3 separate regions of the Homo sapiens genome follow, and regions 2 and 3 are each linked to region 1. Evidence: promoter capture Hi-C in human tissues and cell types (Jung and others, 2019). All regions are on one chromosome and are shown on one strand. The core of a region is centred on a gene start or on the middle of the fragment in contact, and the rest is flanking DNA. Distances in the headings are between cores, read along the strand shown. Region 1 holds the start of RASGRF1 (Ras protein specific guanine nucleotide releasing factor 1). Region 2 overlaps RASGRF1 (Ras protein specific guanine nucleotide releasing factor 1). Region 3 has its middle 35 kb from the start of RASGRF1.

Region 1 (3,256 bases), core at 424-2,923:
GTTGTGTGTAGTGTGTGGTGTTTGTATGGTGTGGGTTGTGTGTGTGTGTGGCGGGGGGTGTGGGGGAGTGTGGGGGGTGTGTATGTGGCATGTGGTATGTGTGTGGTGTGTGGCATGTGTGTGGTGTGTGTGTGGTGTGTGGTGTGTGTGTGGTGTGTGTGTGGTGTGTGGCATGTGTGTGGTGTCTGTGTGTGGTGTGTGTGGCGTGTGTGTGGTGGGGTGTGGGGGGGTGTGGGGAGTGGTGTGTGTGTAGGGTGTGTGGTGTGTGTTTGGTGTGTGTGGTGTTTGGGTGTGTGGTGTGTGTGTGGTGTGTTGGTGTGTGGTGTATGGTGTGTGTGTGTGGTGTGTGGTGTTTGTGTATGCGGTGTGTGTGGCGTGTGTGTGTGCGTGTGTGGTGTGTGTGGTGTATGGTTTGTGTGTGGTGTGTGCGGTGTGTGTGTGTGGTGTGTGTGGTGTGTGTGTGTGGTGTGTGTGGTGTGTGGGTGTGTGGTGTGTGGTGTGTATCTGTGCGTGTGTGGTGTGTGCTGTGTGTGAGTGTGGGGTGTGTGTGTGTGTGTGTGTGTGTGTGTGTGTGTGTGTGTGTGTCGGGGGAGGGGTATACGCAGTTTCCGTGCGGAAAGATGGTGTCTTTCCTTCACAGGGCTGCGCGGGCACCCATCCCCGCTGCAAAGCGCCCGGGCCAGGCGCGGCTTGCTCCGGGTCGGGGCGAGCTCGCTGCCCTCTGCGGCAGACAGCGATGCGCGCTCCCCGCCCCAGCTCCCGGCTCGCCCGGCGGCCCGCGCGCCCTCCCGGTGCAGCATGCGGGCGCTGTGACGTTCTCGGATAAATGCCGTGTAACTGTGTAGGCGAATGAGAGCTAAAAATAAGAACGGAAAATCTATCATTAAGGTATCATTGCGCCAGCGCAGCTATTTGAAGGCTCCCATGGTCCCCGGCGCCTGCGTTTGAAGCCCGCCTTCAGGCTTTGGGGGGTATTTGCAGAAAACTCCCAGCAGCGGCTCGCCAACCAGACCTCAGGGTGCACGGGGGGTGGCGCCGGTAATTATGGCAACTCTCAAAATAAAATAATATAAAATAAAGTAACCAACGTTCACCAACCACCACCCCATCTCACCCCCTGTACTGTCCTCAGGTAGCTGGGGAAGCCGCCGGGAGTGCAGCCGGATGCTGGAATTCAATGTGACCCGGCTGACTATGCAAAGACTAGGACTGGACGCTTTTGCAGCTCTATTTCGCCACCCACCTTCCTCCTTCCACCTCGTATTAGAAATAAAGTGGGGGGGGGGGGCGAGCCTTTGGAGGAGAAAATGACAACTGGCACTTAACCCCAGGTCTACAGTGCGCCGCGGTGGGGCGCAAAGACGCAAACTCCCGGGATGGCGAGCCTTCGGGGTTTCATTGGGTTAAACGAAAATTGATCTGATTTGCTTTTTAACATCCGAGGGAGAGAAGGGGAGATGAGGGGAGGGAGGGCAGGGTTTGAGTGTGTGCGTGTGCGTGTGCGTGTGTGTGTGTCTGGGGAGGGGGAGGAGGCACCAAGTTGCAGCCTGCGCGCGGCTCTGCGCCTCGGCGGGGCTGCGTGCGTGTGTCCCTGTCCGCGCTGCTGAAACGGGCTCTTCGAGGGATCGGCGTCACATGACTCCGCCTGCCCCTCGCCAGCGCGCAGATCGCCAGTCCCTCAGTTTGCCCGGCACCGGAGGAGGGTCGGGCGGCATCTTCCGGGTACTGGGGCTCTGCGGAGCGGAGAAGAGGTTCCAGCGGGGAATGGTATATCTGGATTCAAGAAGCCGCGGCTCGGCGCCAGATCCTGGAGTGTAGATATTTGGGGGGAGGGGAGAGCTAGAGGGAGCGAGCGAGCGAGCGCCAGAGAGAGGCAGCGCGCAGCGCGCACGGACGGGGGGCTGCTGCGCGGAGAAGATGTAAGCGCGTGGGGTCTCGCTGGCCTCTGAGCACCATGCAGAAGGGGATCCGGCTGAATGATGGCCACGTCGCGTCCCTGGGACTGCTGGCGCGCAAGGACGGCACGCGCAAAGGCTACCTGAGCAAGCGGAGTTCGGACAACACAAAATGGCAAACCAAGTGGTTCGCGCTGCTGCAGAACCTGCTCTTCTACTTCGAGAGCGACTCGAGCTCGCGGCCCTCGGGGCTTTACCTGCTGGAGGGCTGCGTCTGCGACCGCGCGCCCTCCCCCAAGCCGGCGCTGTCGGCCAAGGAGCCGCTGGAGAAACAGGTGAGGCGAGCGTCGCGTCCTGACCTCCCTGCGTCCCGGCCGCGGCCCTGGGGGCTCAGGGCCTTCGGCTGGCTGATGGCGCTTGAACTTTGGCCCCTCTACTCTTGGCGCCCTAGGCGCTCTCTGCACCCTCAGCGAGAGGGGAGGCTTGCTCCCAGCCAGGCGAGTGACTGCGGCGGGCAGAGGGGGCAGGGATTGAGGGCGGGGAGTAGATGTGGGCTGCGGCTGCCCTTCGCCGGACGAGCCCCGTGGGAGGCGGGTACAGAGGGGCCGACACCTGGAGATGCAGAGGAAGATGGGGTCCTAAGGACCAGAGACGATGAGTCTGGACACACGTCCAGCCAAAAATGGTGCTCCCAACCCCCACTCCCACCGCCCAGCCCTAATAGCCCCGATCGTCTGTTCTACACCGGGAACGTGTAATTCCCCGCGCTTAGGCATGGGAAGGGCAAGACGGAGGCGTCCGAGCGCTGCCAGCCCTTGCCTCGCCGCAGCTGAGGGCGGAGAGCGGTCTGCGCTAGCTCCTCGGAGTTGGGCTGGGGTTATGGGGCTACACGGGTCGGTTCGGTACCATCGAGCGGTGGTGGGCTCCCAGCTGGCGGCCGCCGGAGCAACAAGCCCAAAGATTCCCAAGGACCGCTCTGATGCGCCGGGGCTAGGGCCAGGGCTGCTGCGGAGGCAGCGGGACGAAGTGGGCGCTTCTCTCCTCCCCCGCCCCCTGCGCCGCCGCCGCCGCCGCAGTCGCGGCTATAGCGCTGCGCTCTGGTTTCCTGAGCTGCAAGGCTGAAGAGCCAGGCCTGGCTCTAACAGGGAGCCCGGGCGGGGTGGGGGTGAGCCTCTGGCGTGAAGGGAGGAGGGGCACCTGCAGAGAGAGCCACCTTTAAGCTTGGTGCGCTTTCCAAAAGCATCTGGTCCAGTCCCTTGCCACTAGGAAGATAAAGCAGATGATAGTGGATCCTAAAATGCCACTGCAGGCAGGAACCTTCCATCCATAGGGCCTAACGGCTGGTGATTGCCTAGATGGGG
Region 2 (3,476 bases), core at 564-3,063, 33 kb after region 1:
ACCAGAAGACAAAACCACTAAAGGGGGCACAAATGCATGGTCAGGGGCTGGAGCCCGACTCTAGCTCCAGCTTTGACGCTCATGGACTGTGATTTGGACCTCAGTTTCTTCATTTGTGAAATGAGATAATTGGTCTTTTGTGATCCCCAAGTTCCCTTCTCACTCTGAGAGTCTGTGAGTCTGTAAAGATTGCACCTGCACGAGGGGGGATAGAAGGATAGGGAAGGATAAGGGAGGATAGGGAAGGGAAGGGAAGGGAAGGGAAGGGAAGGGAAGGGAAGGGAAGGGAAGGATTGGGAAGGGAAGGATAGGGAAAGGAAGGGAAGGATAGGGAAGGGAAGGGAAGGATAGGGAAGGGAAGGGAAGGATAGGGAAGGGAAGGGAAGGATAGGGAAGGGAAGGGAAGGGAAGGATAGGGAAGGGAAGGGAAGGGAAGGGAAGGATAGGGAAGGGAAGGGAAAGATAGGGAAGGAAAGGGAAGGGAAGGATAGGGAAGGGAAGGGAAGGATAGGGAAGGGAAAAGAAAGGAGGAAGGAGAGGAAAGGAAAGGAGAGGAGGATGGAGGGAGGGTTGGAAGAGGGACAGAAGGAGGGAGGGAGGTTAGCAGAGCAGCCTGCAGATGAGGCGGACGCCTATTTTACAGCACTCTGACGGGGTCCATTAGTAAGAAGAGACTAACGAAGCAGCTGAATTTTCACACCCATGGGGTGAGGGGAGTTGTGGTGGTACAAAAACAGACTCCTTCATGCTCTCAACTGAATTTCCTTTACAAGGAAAAACAAGTCTCTTGAGAAGTTGGAAAAACTTAAAAACCTGATATTCATTTTCATCACAGAAGCACAAAATCTTATTATACTTTAATAGGATAGCATTATAAACTAAAGGATTCTCTCTTCTAGCCCTGTTATTTATCTTTAAAAGTGGGTGGGAACAAGAACACAGATGTGCTTTCTGGATCAGGCTCGCACTCGGGCCCACCGCCCCGCCTTGCTCCAGCTCTCTCCCTGCCTGGACTGCCCCCACCTCTACCCTGCCAAGCCCTCTCACTCTGCAGGGTGCTGGGAGTCAGGGCCTTCTGCTAAGTGCAGGTGGGTGGGTGAGCCCCTCTCCCGGTCAGTGCCCTGCTTGGTTCGCCAGAGGACAAGGAGTCAGCATCTTACCTGCCATGTCCATCTGTCCACAGCTACAGGACCCTCGCCACAGAGCATGAGGCATTAATGCAGAAATACCTGCACCTGCTGCAGATCGTGGAGACAGAGAAGACCGTGGCCAAGCAGCTTCGGCAGCAGATCGAGGATGGGGAGATCGAGATCGAGCGGCTGAAGGCAGAGGTGACTGCGGGCTGGGGGGTGGGCCCAGGCCCTAGGCACAACATCTCAAACCCTGGGCTCCTGCAGGATTGGGGAGCCACATGACAGGCAGGGAAAGCAGCTCCCAGATGCAGTTCTTCCAGACTCCAAACTTAGGACGTGGTGGTACTGGCAGAATGAGAAGGTCCTGTGGTCAGACTGGGTTTAAATCTCACCTCTGTCACTTATTGACTGCAACCTGGAACAAGTCCCTCAATGTGCCTGTGCCTCAGTTTCTGCAGCTGTAAAACAGGGCTTTCTATAAACACCTGACCAGGTCGTGAGGATTGAGTGAGATTATCTACGGGCAAGCTCCTAGTTACTGTGTCAGCCACTGTATTGACTGAGCATTCTGCATTATTAGCCCAAGACTCTGGAGAGCGCAGGGTCACTGGTAGGTCATTAGAGTGTGGGCTTCTGCTCAACTCCAAGGCAGCCCCTTCCCTCCATCCATCTTGATGAAAGCTCCTGCAGCGGCCCACCAGCCAGCATTCTGGAGGCGGCATTGTTGCCAGACTAAGCCTCTTTGCACCTGGCTTCCCCAAGTGTGGTCCATGAAGCAGCAGCATTGGTTTCACCTGGAGCAGAATCTCAGGCCCCACCCCAGATCTTCTGAATTGGAATCTACAGTTTAACAGCCCAGGTGATTCCATTTACATTAAACCTTAGGAAGCACTAGCTCTTAGTCCCTTAGATGCCCCTCACCAGCTATCAACCCTGGCACAGAATGATCTGATCATCTCTTCCCCTTATCACCTCACCAGCATGCTCAGAACCATCTGGCCATATCATACAAGGACCACAGATTTTGCACTGAGGAGGGGAAAATGAAAACAAAGACTCCTGAAGTCAGCTGGGTATCTAATTTGCAGGGTCTGATGTGAGGTGAAAATGCAAGGCCCAGGCCAGGGAAGTCATTCTCCTGTCCCACAGCCTCCTGACTTGACTCATGGCAGACAGGCAGCACCCAACCTCAACCTGTAGCCTCCCCTGCCCTGACTGCCAGGAAGTGCGCAGTAGCTGGACTGGGGTGGGCAAGGAGCTCCTTCTGAGTCACCCACGTAATGCACCCTGGCACTGCCAGCCTGCAGCAGGGATGGCTGTCGCCTTGCCCTGCGACACCATGGGGCGCACACTGGACCCCAGCCTGCACCTATGCCCAGGCATCTGCTGAGGGTTGGGGGTGATGGTGGACTGTGAGTCTCCTCAGCTGACTCAACCGGTTGCTCCCTGAGCAGATGGTAGCAGAGGTCTTGGGGTCTGGGATGCCAGAGTGTGGGGAATAAGCAGCCAAGGACCCATCCAAGGAGCTGAAAAAGCGGTGGGAGGTAGGAACATGCATGAACCAAGGCTCCAAGAACCTGCAGTGTGCTCATGGTCCCATCAAATTCCACTCACTAAACACAATTCAAAGAGAAAACTATCTTAAGAATTTCAACAAAAGAGCTTAAAGTCCCGAATGCAGAGCCTTCTGAGCATAGGGCCCCATCACACCTGCGAATCCAGCTCTGCCTGGAATGTTCAAAGATCTAAAGCCAACAATTTCACCTTGTTCCGCAGCAGCCAAGCCCTGAACTAAGAGTAATATCAACTTGCAACCTCAAGGTCAACAAAAATTCCAGATTCTACACATCTCTGCTAGCCTGATAACAGGCACCTTCACGACATACTTTCATTCCCCACAACCATCCTGATAGGATCAGTCACCTGCATTTCACAGGAGAAACCAGACTCAGAGAGCCCAAGTCACTTGCCCAAGCTCACACAGCTGGGAAGTGGCAGAGCTGAGACTGGAACCCAGGTCTCCTGTCTGCTTGCCAGTCTTTCCACTCTACTCTGGTAGCCTCTTCCCACAGGGCTACCAGAGCTCAGTTCAGGGATGTCCCCACTCCGGCCCACCCAGTTCATTCTGGGATCAATCCTCGCCCAACACAGATTGCTAAATCTAAACTGAACTCCTGTATGGGATCAGGGAAGGAGTCCAGCCCCAGTACCAGATTATTAGCTTCATGATCAAGAGTGTCCAAGTGTCATTCATTCATTCACTTACTCACTCACTGAAGATCACCTACCACTGACCTCATCCTTTTCCCCAAGCACCACCTCTTCAGTCACTGTGGGCACCAG
Region 3 (3,340 bases), core at 543-3,042, 35 kb before region 1:
ATCCTTCTAGTTTCTTGGTCTTTGTTAAGATTTTCTCCTCTTTTCCACTTATGTATCAATTCATGTGGCAGTCTTAAACTGTATCAGTTACCATAGCTCAAGGCACTTTCACATCTGGTTGGGAAAGCTCCCTTTCTTTATTAACCATCTCTAAAAATTTTCCAGCTATTGTTGCACATATTTTTTAAAGGAAGCTTCTATACGAATTGGGGAGAGCTATTCTAAATCATAAGAGATGGAAGAAAGGGGGAAATGTTTCAAGGCTTCAGATTTAGTAGGAAGGATATGAGGGGTAAGGCCTGAGAAACTGTGATCCAAGTGTACCCAGATGGTCCTTGTTGTGCTGGGGGCTTAGCCAGCTCCAGGAAAACTCTCCCCACGTGCACATTGAGGGGCAGAGGGTTGGCCAAACCAAAGCTCAGATGATTCACTCTCCCAACAATTTGGGAGGGCTCAGGAATCTCTGAAAAAACTCTTTTTTCCTACATCTATAATGGCAAGAGTCAAAATGGAGGCTTACATGACAAAATGGAGACTGGAGAAGGAGTCATTCGAAGAGAGAGATTGAAAATATGAAAGTCTGTTGCCCCATTTGAATCCTTTGAGAGTGCTGGAGCTAGGTCACAAAAGAAATAAAGACCTGCTAAACTTAAGGGGAAAGACTTTGCTGAGATGACCATGGAATGGCCACAGACTCCCAAGCAAGCAGGTCTCTATAGTTTGAGCTGGGAGCTTAACAGGGAGCTGTCAGATGCAAATGGCAATATGAACCAAGAATGTCAGATCCTGGAAAAAGAATAAAATAATACATTGAAAAATACTTCTTTTGAATCTGTTGGACATTTTGACAAGCAAGAGCGATTCACTGCATAAAATTGTAACCTCCCATGGAGAAAGAAGGCAGGTTAAGAGCCACCCTATGTCTATAGTTGTATCTGACTTTTTCAAGTAGGAGCTAAAACTGAAAAGAAAAGCAAGAATGCTGTTGTTTTAGAAGCAGGCTGTGTGAACAGACCATGTACTAGCAAATGTGGGCACATGTGATCCATTTGCTCAGTGGCTTTGTAGCCCCCTCCAACAAATCATAATATTGCTCAACTGGGAAAATGCACTGTAATTACACAAATCTTAGGAAATTTTTACTGTGAATGCATGTTTGTTTTGAATGAATACAACACATTTGGTTTTTTAACATTTTTTTCCCTCGCAGGGTATGTATTGATTAATTCGGAGATAACTTTTTTCTAAAATTATTATCTGCACTTTCAAAGTCACAATGTTAACTCTTTGAGCTGTTTGGACATTTTCATTATGACAATGAAGACAGAATTTAAGAAATCTAAATTCAGCTTTATAAATCAGTGTGTTTACTGGATTTTTTGGTACCACATAAAGGCGTATGAACTTACACTATGATCCATGAGTAAATGCATGGACATTTATTTTATTGGGCTTGTTAGGGAACATGAACAAGGATGTTCAGTATAATGTTTCTTAATGTGGCCAAGGTTGGAAGCCATTAGAGTGTCCATCCCCGGCAGAATTAATAGGTGAAATGTGGAGAATGAACTTCCTGGAGTACCCTACAGCAGTTACAATCAGTAGATCAGATGTTCATATAGCAACATAGATAGATCTTAGAAACACAGTGCTGAATTTTAAAAAAAGGAAGAAACAATGGGATCTGTAACATAATACTAGTAACAACAATTTTAAACACATGCCTACAAAACAACAGTGCACATTTCCAGGAAGACATAGGAACAAAACAATACTCATTAAATATATTAGAATGGTCTTCTACAGGGAGAAGAATAATGAGAGCAGGGAATGGAGATAAAAAGAGAATTAAAAAAGAACATTTTATAATACCTTTTCAATTCTTTTATGCGTACTTCATATTTAAATTGTGATTTTTTTCCCCTTCTAAATCAGGAAAAAAAGCCTCCCACCCACAATATTCTAGGGAGAGAGATGAATATTCACCATCTAACTTCTGAAATTGACATTTATTTTGTGATTCAAGAAGAAAAGGTGGTAGGAATAAATAACATAACGAGGGAATCTAATCCATAAAACTGGGAAAACAAATTAGATTTTATTAATAAAATCTGAACTGGGTACAATCATCAGCTTGTGAGATTTACTCACTTGGTGATCTTAATGTGGATGGGGAAGATTTTTAATTAGTAACTTTGCATATTTTTATGGGAATTAAAAATTTTCCCCTGTAGTTTGGGTACGCATTCACCACTGGATGCAAAACTCAGTGCTCAGACGTGACATTTTCATTCAGTAATGCTTTTTGGACACAAATAGCAATGGAACTCACTGAGAAACCCTACAGGATGATTAGTCCCTAATACTGTTTTCTGCTTTTGTTTTTATGTAGCCCTGGGATTTCAGCTGTATCTGTGTCTTCTCAGTTGATTTTTAGCAGCCAAGACAAGATTGTCAGCAGCACCTGGGTCCAATTGAGCCCCCTGTTGAGGCAGGTCTTCCAGCTCTCACCAGTTGGTAAAGGGATCTTAAGCTGGCCTATTACTCAGAGCTCCTTGTGGCCTTCCTAGGCCATGCCTAGAGTTGAGCATTCAATTCTTGCTTTTGAGTGAGAAGTCAGAACCCCACAGTGAGGCAGAGAACTCACCACACTCCTTGTTGAGAATTTCAGTGGCATCAGTGGGCATCTCTGCTGGGTAGCACCATCAAACACGTGCAATTACCTCTCTACCACTCCCATCTTGCCCGGAACCAAAGAGGCAGCACTCAGCACTCATTGTCCTAATTCCCTGCTTCCTCAAACTGGGTGCTGAGTGTCTTTCAATAAGCATTTTCTCAACCTACAGAGGGAAAGAAGTGTGGTGTCAGTAAACTTAGGAAGCAGAAGCTACAAAGATGCATATGGGTAGCAAGGCCCGCAGTGCTGTTTCAGTTATCTATTTCTAGAAAACACAGTGGCCTAAAACAAGAACCATCTTGTTTGCTGGAGATTCTGAAGGTCAGAAATGCAGACAAGACCCAGCTGGGCGGTTCTTCTGTATTGCTCTGTATTGCAGTTCATGTATTGTCTCTTCACTGCATTTGACTGGTGACTGGTGACTGGGCTGGGTTGGAAGATACAGATCGCATGTCTGATTGCTGAGGGCTCCTCCCTGTGGCTTATCTCTCTCACGGTGTATTTTCTTCGTATGATCTCTCTTTCCAGCAGGATGGCCTGGACTTCCTCACAGTATGGTGGCTGGGGAGCAAGAGGAAAAGGCCCAATGTGCAAGCACTTATGGAGCCTCTGCCTGCATCACATTTGCTAATGTCCCATTGGCTAAAGCAAATCACATGGCCA

Evidence for each region. Contacts are between HindIII fragments. The study calls those that stand out against the background at their distance.
Region 2: a contact is called between a fragment that was not itself captured here and the fragment with the promoter of RASGRF1 in region 1, in 3 of the 25 tissues and cell types used here (IMR-90 fibroblasts, heart right ventricle and spleen).
Region 3: a contact is called between a fragment that was not itself captured here and the fragment with the promoter of RASGRF1 in region 1, in 2 of the 25 tissues and cell types used here (H1 embryonic stem cells and psoas muscle).

What each region holds. Positions count from the first base shown.
Region 1 is chr15:79,089,197-79,092,452 of GRCh38, reverse strand. It overlaps RASGRF1 (Ras protein specific guanine nucleotide releasing factor 1), which reads left to right and starts at 1,673. Exons shown (of 27, transcript NM_001145648.3): 1 at 1,673-2,230. The coding sequence starts at 1,955. The HindIII fragment of the contact is 16,697 bases long and covers 1-3,256 here.
Region 2 is chr15:79,056,189-79,059,664 of GRCh38, reverse strand. RASGRF1 (Ras protein specific guanine nucleotide releasing factor 1) reads left to right here. Exons shown (of 27, transcript NM_001145648.3): 3 at 1,184-1,331. Among named protein-coding and RNA genes, the nearest start is that of RASGRF1, 33 kb to the left of the region's middle. The HindIII fragment of the contact is 6,925 bases long and covers 1-3,476 here.
Region 3 is chr15:79,124,555-79,127,894 of GRCh38, reverse strand. No RefSeq gene overlaps it. Among named protein-coding and RNA genes, the nearest start is that of RASGRF1, 35 kb to the right of the region's middle. The HindIII fragment of the contact is 4,826 bases long and covers 1-3,340 here.